3 separate regions of the Homo sapiens genome follow, and regions 1 and 2 are each linked to region 3. Evidence: promoter capture Hi-C in human tissues and cell types (Jung and others, 2019). All regions are on one chromosome and are shown on one strand. Each heading gives the region's core, a stretch centred on a gene start or on the middle of the fragment in contact. The rest is flanking DNA. Distances are from core to core; before and after follow the strand shown.

What was found. The method cuts DNA at HindIII sites, captures the fragments that hold promoters and counts their contacts. A contact is called where the count stands out against the background at its distance.
Region 1: a fragment that was not itself captured here is called in contact with the fragment with the promoter of STAT5A in region 3 in 1 of the 25 tissues and cell types used here (pancreas).
Region 2: a contact is called between a fragment that was not itself captured here and the fragment with the promoter of STAT5A in region 3, in 1 of the 25 tissues and cell types used here (mesenchymal stem cells).

What each region holds. Positions count from the first base shown.
Region 1 is chr17:42,489,581-42,492,280 of GRCh38, forward strand. It overlaps ATP6V0A1 (ATPase H+ transporting V0 subunit a1), which reads left to right. Exons shown (of 22, transcript NM_001130021.3): 11 at 907-1,057. Among named protein-coding and RNA genes, the nearest start is that of MIR548AT, 3.8 kb to the right of the region's middle. The HindIII fragment of the contact is 3,999 bases long and covers 1-2,700 here.
Region 2 is chr17:42,140,746-42,143,445 of GRCh38, forward strand. All of the region lies in intron 1 of RAB5C (RAB5C, member RAS oncogene family), which reads right to left. Among named protein-coding and RNA genes, the nearest start is that of RAB5C-AS1, 12 kb to the right of the region's middle. The HindIII fragment of the contact is 7,835 bases long and covers 1-2,700 here.
Region 3 is chr17:42,287,076-42,289,775 of GRCh38, forward strand. It overlaps STAT5A (signal transducer and activator of transcription 5A), which reads left to right and starts at 1,423. Exons shown (of 19, transcript NM_001288718.2): 1 at 1,423-1,523; 2 at 2,327-2,464. The coding sequence starts at 2,337. It also overlaps a transcript of STAT5B not described here. RefSeq lists enhancers at 137-196, 480-980, 2,427-2,486 and silencers at 997-1,076, 1,097-1,776. The HindIII fragment of the contact is 10,924 bases long and covers 1-2,700 here.

The sequences.
Region 1 (2,700 bases), core at 104-2,603, 200 kb after region 3:
CTGGTTCCTAGCAAGGTGCAGGAGAAATACAAGGAGAAAGATTTAAACATCTTTTTGAGGCATCAAAGCTGACTGGCCAGGAGAATTAGGGTTCCAATGAGGGAAGTAAATGTTCAGCCAGAGAAGCTTATTGATTGGGGAGAGATGGTAAGTTCAGTTCCGGGCACATTGAGGTCTATGTGGAAATGTCAAGCAGACAAGGGAACAAAGCTAAGGAAATGGGAGTCATGAGAATGGAAGGGAATGAGACCTCCAAGAGGGAGGTCATAGAGAGAAAAAAAAGGTTGGGGTCTTGCAATGCTATGAGATAGGCAGAGCAGAAATAACCAGCAAAGATAGAAAAGCAATGGTCAGCGAGCAGGAGGAGAACTCCTAAGGAAGAAGGATTTTCACCAAAGATCTCCAATGTCAGGGGCGTGCATGGGGGAGAGAAGCTCTTTGGTCAGGAGCCAGTCACTTTGCCTAAGCATGCTCAGCCAGACTGCAAGGGATCAGGAAGTTAAGAGAAGGTAGTGAAGAAGGAGAGCCAGAGAACATACTTTGCTTTCTCCATGAAAGGGGGAGAACAACTTTCATAAAAAGGCAGATATGGAGGCAGTTCCACATTTTCTTTGGTGACATATTTTAAAGTTAAATTTTTTTCACATTAAGGATGTATTTCAGAGGATCTAATAGAAATCTTCCATTATAAATGTTATACCTTTTCCCAGTTTTCCCAAAAGCTGGGAAAGATAATCTAGTTTTATTTTTAGGTTTATTAGTTTTATTGAGATATAATTTACATGAAAGAAAATACATACATTTTATGTGTACCATTTGATGAGTTTCAAGAAATGTACACCTGTGTAACCACTACCACAATTAGGAGGATAACCTAAGTTTGATAAATGTGCTAATGTTTTTCAGGAACACAGTGGTTCCACTGTACCTTCCATTTTGAACAGGATGCAGACAAACCAGACTCCCCCAACCTATAACAAAACCAACAAGTTTACCTATGGCTTTCAGAACATAGTAGATGCTTATGGAATTGGAACTTACCGAGAGATAAATCCAGGTAAAAAAAAGCTTGTTATCTTTTTCCTCTAGAGTTTTTTTTGTTTGTTTGGTTGGTTTGGTTTGTTTTGAGACAGAGTCTCCCTCTGTCACCCAGGCTGGAGTGCAGCAGCACGACTGTAGTTCACTGCAGCCTCAAACTCCTGGCCTCAAGAGATCCTCCCAACTCAGTCTCCTGTATAGCTAGGACCACAGGCGCACAGCACCACACCTGGCTAATTTTTTATTTTATGATTTTTTTTTGACTGGGTCTCATTCTGTTGCCTAGGCTGTAGTGCAATGGTGAAATCACGGCTTACAGCAGCCTCAACCTCGTGGGCTCAAGTGATTCTCCCGCCTGAACCTCTGGAGTAGCTGGGACTACAGGCATGTGTCACCATGCCTGGCTAATTTTTAAAATTTTTTTAGAGATGGGTTTTGCTATGTTGCCCAGGCTGATAATTTTTAATTTTTTTTAGAGACGGGGTCTTGTTATGTTGCCCAAGCTAGTCTTGGACTCCTGGGCTCAAGGAAGCCTCCTGCTTCAGCCTCCCAAAGTGCTGGGATTACAGGTGTGACCCACTATGCCTGGCCTTTTTGTTCATTGTTTCTTCTAATGCCTCACTTTAAATGCTGTTGAATAACTGAATTAAAATTAAAGATGTTAATCCTAGCACTGTTTTTTTAATTTAATTTTATTTTTAATTTTTTTTGAGACGGAGTCTCGCTGTGTCACCCATGCTGGAGTGCAGTGGCGTGATCTTGGCTCACCGCAAGCTCTGCCTCCCAGGTTCACGCCATTCTTCTGCCTCAGCCTCCCGAATAGCTGGGACTACAGGCACCCGCCACCATGCCCGGCTAATTTTTTTTTTATTTTTTTTAGGTGAGACAGAGATTTACTCTCGTTGCCCAGGCTGGAGTGCAATGGCACGATCTCAGCTCACCACATCCTCTGCCTCCCAGGTTCAAGCGATTCTCCTGCCTCAGCCTCCCGAGTAGCTGGGATTATAGGCATGTGCCATCACGCCCGGCTAATTTTGTATTTTTAGTCGAGACGGGGTTTCACCATGTTGCCCAGGCTGATCTCTAACTCCTGACTTCAGGTGATCTGCCTGCCTCTGCCTCCCCAAGTGCTGGGATTACAGACGTGAGCCACTGCGCCCGGCCATTTTTTTGTATTTTTAGTAGAGACAGGGTTTCACTGTGTTAGCCAGGATGGTCTCGATCTCCTGACCTCATGATCCACCCGCCTTGGCCTCCCAAAGTGCTGGGATTACAAAGTGCTGGGTGGCGTGAGCCACTGCGCCCAGCCAATCCTAGCACTTTTAGAGGCCGAGGTAGGAGGATTGCTTAAGCCCAGGATTTCAAGATCAGCCTGGGCAACATAGTGAGACCCCATCTCTATTAAAAAATAAATAAACATGTTGACACCTCAGATCTTGTGTACTCCCTGTGAAGAGGTGCTCATTCTGGCAGGGCATGGTGGCTCACGCCTGTAATCCCAGCACTTTGGGAGGCTGAGGCATGTGGATCACATGAGGTCAGGAGTTTGAGACCAGCCTGGCCAACATGGTGAAACCCTGCCTCTACTAAAAATACAAAAATTAGCCGGATTTGGTGGCATGCACCTGTAGTCCCAGCTACTCGGGAGGCTGAGGCCTGAGA
Region 2 (2,700 bases), core at 123-2,622, 150 kb before region 3:
GAACTCCTAACCTCAGGTGATCCGCCTGCCTCAGCCTCCCAAAGTGTTGGGATTACAGGCATGAGCCACCACACCCAGCTCTTTTTTCTATATACATTTTTGAGACAGGGTCTTGCTCTGCTGCCCAGGTTGGATTGCAGTGACGCAATCATAGCTTACCGCTACCTTGACTTCCTGGGCTCAAGCAATCCTCCTACCTCAGCCTCCCAAGTAGCTGGGACTACGGGCGCATGCCACCATGCCCAGCTAATTTTTCTATTTTTTGTAGAGATGGGGTTTCACCATGTTGCCCAGGCTGATCTCAGACTCCTGGGCTCAAGTGATCCACCTGCTTCAGCCTCCCAAAGTGCTGCGATTACAGGCATGAGCCACTGTGTCTGCCATCTTTCTTAATTTTTGCTGAACAAACTGTAGAGTGGTGCCCAGTGAAGAAATCAAGCAATGAATAGGTCTAAACAAGATTCAATGAGCGAATCACACTTCTGCTTCCATGGCCCCAAATGTTCATAAGACTAGTGTAGGTGGCAAGGGGCTGGAGAACTTGGGGGACTGAGGGTTGTGAGAGAGAAAGCAAGAGAAATTAAAGGCACTGTTGCAGATGAAAACAACCACATTACAAAATTCTCAAAGGCTGGACAATGGGTTTCCTTTGTGTTAACAGCACATAACAGCAAGCCTGACCCATAGTAGGTGAGCACAGATACGGTGAACTGTGCATGTGAGAGGTACCGCCCGCTTACACTTGGCAAGTGAACGGGGGAAGTTGAGGGCTTAAATCTGCATTCATCTGCCAGACGGCTCGGGTCCCCTAACAGAGCCACAGAGCAGCTGAGGAGCTGCCTCACTTCCCCAGGGAGGACTTCCTCCATCCCTACTGCACAGAGCTTAAGAGCACAAGTGCTGGAGTCAGACAACTTGAACTTCAGTTCAAGTTCTGGAGGCACCACTTACTAGGGTGGCCTGGTGTTGTCACTGAACCCATTTCCTCACACGTAAAATGGAGAGACCAGTACCACCCGTCTCCAGGACTGCCAGGAAGATGATGCATGTGAGACTCTCAGCAAAGGGCCTGGCATCGGGAAGCATTCAGTACATGTTCTGTAGCAGGGGAGCCCCTGCGCCTTCACTTCCCTGTGAAGGAGCCGGACTCCTCACTTCATCTGTCAGACAACATTCACACATTCCTCTTACCTCCAGTTTCCCGGGACTCCATTCTTCAGCACCTCTCATTTGGAGAGAATGCTGAAGAGGACGTCTTTCCTCAGTTTCCTAGAAGATACTCAGTGTCCTGTCAACAACCCCAATCTTGTATCCTCCAGAGACTAGCTCCCAAAACCACAAAAATGGAGGGGAGAAACCATTACCATCCAATAAATCTGCATGGGGTGAAGGCCCCAACCATGCAAACCATAACCTCTTAAAAAAAAAAAAAAAGCCCCATTAACACAAAGCATCTTGGGTTTTTTTTTGGTAGAGATGGGGTTTCATCATGTTGCCCAGGCTGATCTCAAACTCCTGCGCTCAAGCAATCCCCCCGCCTTGGCCTCCCAAAGTACTGAGATTACAGGCATGAGCCACCGCGCCCAGCCCACAAAGCATCTTAAAGCCCAAATGCCCTTCCTTCCATCTCAAAGCCTCTTTCAGGAAAGGGAAGAAGCAGTTCAGTTGTTGAGAGGGCTAGGGGACAGGAATAGAGCAGCTGACAAAGAAAGCAGAGTTCCTTTTAAAAACCAGGCTGCAAATGCTAGAGGTTTGGAAACTGGCGTCATTCATCACCACGCTGTCTGAGCAGCTCAGAGAGCAATCTGATGTCTAGGAGAGCAGCCAGGGTTAGAGAGGCCACCCACGCCCTCCTCCATGCCTGGGATGCCTCTGACAGCCACCTGAAGGGGACATACATGGAGCTATGAATAGAAGGCAAAAGGCTTGTAAACCAACTCCTGTTAAGATCCCAAGTTAGTGTTTCCAGCAGGGCTCAAGTTACACATTTTCAGAGAGATGACAGTACAATGGAAGGATTTCAGCTATTCAATGATTCAGGATCACGGCACAAAGTGACAGCCTACCCTGAGCCCGCCAACAGCCACAAACCGTCCCATGGGGGCAGTCCATTTTGGAAGGGCAGCAAAAGACACTGACTGGCCCGGACCATGTGGAATCTCTTACAAGACCCAGAGTCCAGGAAGGTTTAGCTGGAGAACTTAGCACCTGAAATAGAGAACGATTATATACACATGCCTCATCTTCCCACACCTCCATAGGTAAATTCCAAAGGAAAGACCAAATCAGACCATTTTTTGGATCAGTCATAGCATCAGGCAGGGGTAAGAGCAGTATGAATGGGTGAGTAGAACAACAGCCAGCTACTGGGATTAACTCCCAGGACTGCAGTTGATTCTCAGGGGGTAGATTTCCCAGGTCCACCTCTACCTTTCCCAACTCCAGAGTCTCTAGTAACTATGACTAACCATCAAGAGAAGAAATAACTCAAGGCATCCACATCACTCTATGTCAACATACCTGAGAGAAAACATTTGCTAAAAAGGCAGTGGCCTTGGAGAGCCAGCTGAATCTACAACTCTGGCACGAAATACACAAAGTAAGCCTGGGGCCGGGAGTGGTGGCTCATGCCTGTAACCCTAGCACTTTGGAAGGCTGAGGCAAGTGGATCACTTGAGGTCAGGAGTTCAAAACCAGCCT
Region 3 (2,700 bases), core at 173-2,672:
CCTCCATGCACCCCCTTAGAGTTTTCAATTCCTTTCCTCGTGATCCTGCCAACTAAGACACTGTGACCACACAGAGAAGGTGGGGAGAACGCAGACATTTTGGCTTCTGCAGCTTTGAAGTTCTTTTTTTTTTTTTCCTCTGAAGTTAAAAGAATGAAACTGGGAGAGGTAGTAAGGGGCAAGAAAGGAGAGTGGAAATGGAGAGAAAAGGGCAGCTCTGAGAAGCAGCTGGGGAGGGAGGCAGATGAGAATGCACCCCCCCCAACAGAACATGCAGTCTTGGCCCAGCTGTGCTGTGAGTGGGCAGCTGGGCTGGCCCCTCCTCTGGTGCTGCCAACCCGCTGCCAGGCAGAGGGGAGGCCCAGAGGAGAGGGAAGCTGGGCAAAGGGGATGGAAGGCGTCCAGCCCGACCTTACCAAACCCCTTGGGCCTCGTGGGAAGGGGCCTCTTGGAGAGGGGGACTGAGGCTCTAGACAGGATATTCACTGCTGTGGCAAGGCCTGTAGAGAGTTTCGAAGTTAGGAGGACTCAAGACGGTCCCTCCCTGGACTTTTCTGAAGGTAGAACCAGCCTCATAAGTAACTAGGCTGGGTGAACGGGGGCGCTGGCTAGTTTATGGATCACAGTCGGCTGGTGAGGCCACGTGCCTACTGTGTGGCCCTGGGTGGCCCCGGGCAAGCCCCTTTCCCTCTCAGGACTTCCATTTCTTACCTGCAAAATTGTGGAGAGGGGGAGGGCTGAAACACATGACTGCCAAGATTCTTTCCAGTTCCTCCGTCAGGGTTGAGTTTAGATGGCCGGAGTAAAAGAAGGAGGGAGGTGCTGCGGTGGTGGGGGTGATCTTGGCTTCACTAGAATCCCCAGTTCTTCCCCTCTCTACAGTTTTGTCTCTGAGGTCACAAAACCTGTGGCCCCCAAGACACACATGCGCACACACGCGCGTGCACACACACACCCCACACATTTATTTTTTAATCTAGGGGCTCAAAAGATGACACGCGCCAGAGCTGGAAGGCGTCGCCAATTGGTCCACTTTTCCCTCCTCCCTTTTTGCGGATGAGAAAACTGAGGCCCAGGTTTGGGATTTCCAGAGCCCGGGATTTCCCGGCAACGCCCGACAACCACATTCCCCCGGCTATTCTGACCCGCCCCGGTTCCGGGACGCTCCCTGGGAGCCGCCGCCGAGGGCCTGCTGGGACTCCCGGGGGACCCCGCCGTCGGGGCAGCCCCCACGCCCGGCGCCGCCCGCCGGGAACGGCCGCCGCTGTTGCGCACTTGCAGGGGAGCCGGCGACTGAGGGCGAGGCAGGGAGGGAGCAAGCGGGGCTGGGAGGGCTGCTGGCGCGGGCTCGCGCGCTGTGTATGGTCTATCGCAGGCAGCTGACCTTTGAGGAGGAAATCGCTGCTCTCCGCTCCTTCCTGTAGTAACAGCCGCCGCTGCCGCCGCCGCCAGGAACCCCGGCCGGGAGCGAGAGCCGCGGGGCGCAGAGCCGGCCCGGCTGCCGGACGGTGCGGCCCCACCAGGTGGGTGACCCGGTGGCGCGTCCTCGGCGGCGCGCCGAGAGGGGACACTCTACTGCCGCCCCGGCACCTCCGGCACCCGGAGCTCGACGGCCGGGCGCAGCGCGGGGATCAGTCCCCGGCACTGCGAGGGAGTTGGCCCAGCGCAGACGAGGGACGGGGGGACGTGGGGACAGGGGTCGGGGATGAAAGGCAGAGGCCAGGGAGGGCGCCGTCCTGGCACGCCTCGGAGAGGGAGCACCTGTCGGGCTGGACCCGGGGAGGCACTAGTGCACAGATGGGGGAGCAGCCGAAGAGGGGAGCGCCCAAGTCCTCAGCCCTGTCTCCTGAACAGCCCCAGCCACGTGCCCGAAAAGCCCTAGCCGTCGAGTGGGAGCCGTCGTGGCGCTGGCCTAACTTCGGGTTGGAATATCTCCCCTTCCCAGAAACCGGGCCCGAGGTGGGCTGGGGGATCCTTGCAGCCCTCTCCAGGGGGCCTGTGGGCCTCCCGCCGTCAAGTTTCTCTTTCAGTTTCTGGCCGTCCCCCTCACTAGGGAAGCTCCGGTGGGGCGAGGGGAGAGGAAGACGGGGAGGGCACCTGCCTCTGCAGAGCACCTTCCCCTCCCCTTCAGCGGGTTCCTTGTTGGAGGGGATGGGCGGCCCTCCACTCCTCACCATCTCTGTTCCCGCACAGGAAAGCTATCTGTGGGAGGGGAGGGGCCTGGCCTGGCCGCGGTCCAGGGATAGGTAGGCATGGCAAGGCCAGGGGCAGGCCCGGTTCCTTGGCCTCTGCAGAGGAGAGCGCTTCAGCGCTCGGCTCGCCCTAGGTGAACGGCCATGGCGGGCTGGATCCAGGCCCAGCAGCTGCAGGGAGACGCGCTGCGCCAGATGCAGGTGCTGTACGGCCAGCACTTCCCCATCGAGGTCCGGCACTACTTGGCCCAGTGGATTGAGAGCCAGCCATGGTAGGCACGTCCCGCCCTGCCCCTCCTCAGAGGGTCCCTACCATCCAGGCCCTTTGGCCTCTAGTTTTACTCATGGTGGTTTGGTGTGACTCTGGTCCTGCCTGTCCTTCTTTGTGCGGAAGGGGTGGTGCCCCTGGGAAAGGGGAAGCCTGGGAGGACAGAGAATGTTTTTAGACTCGGATGTCTGTGGAGCTGCTGGGAACAAGTCTTGTGGGCCCTGGAGTGCCCTCGGTCAT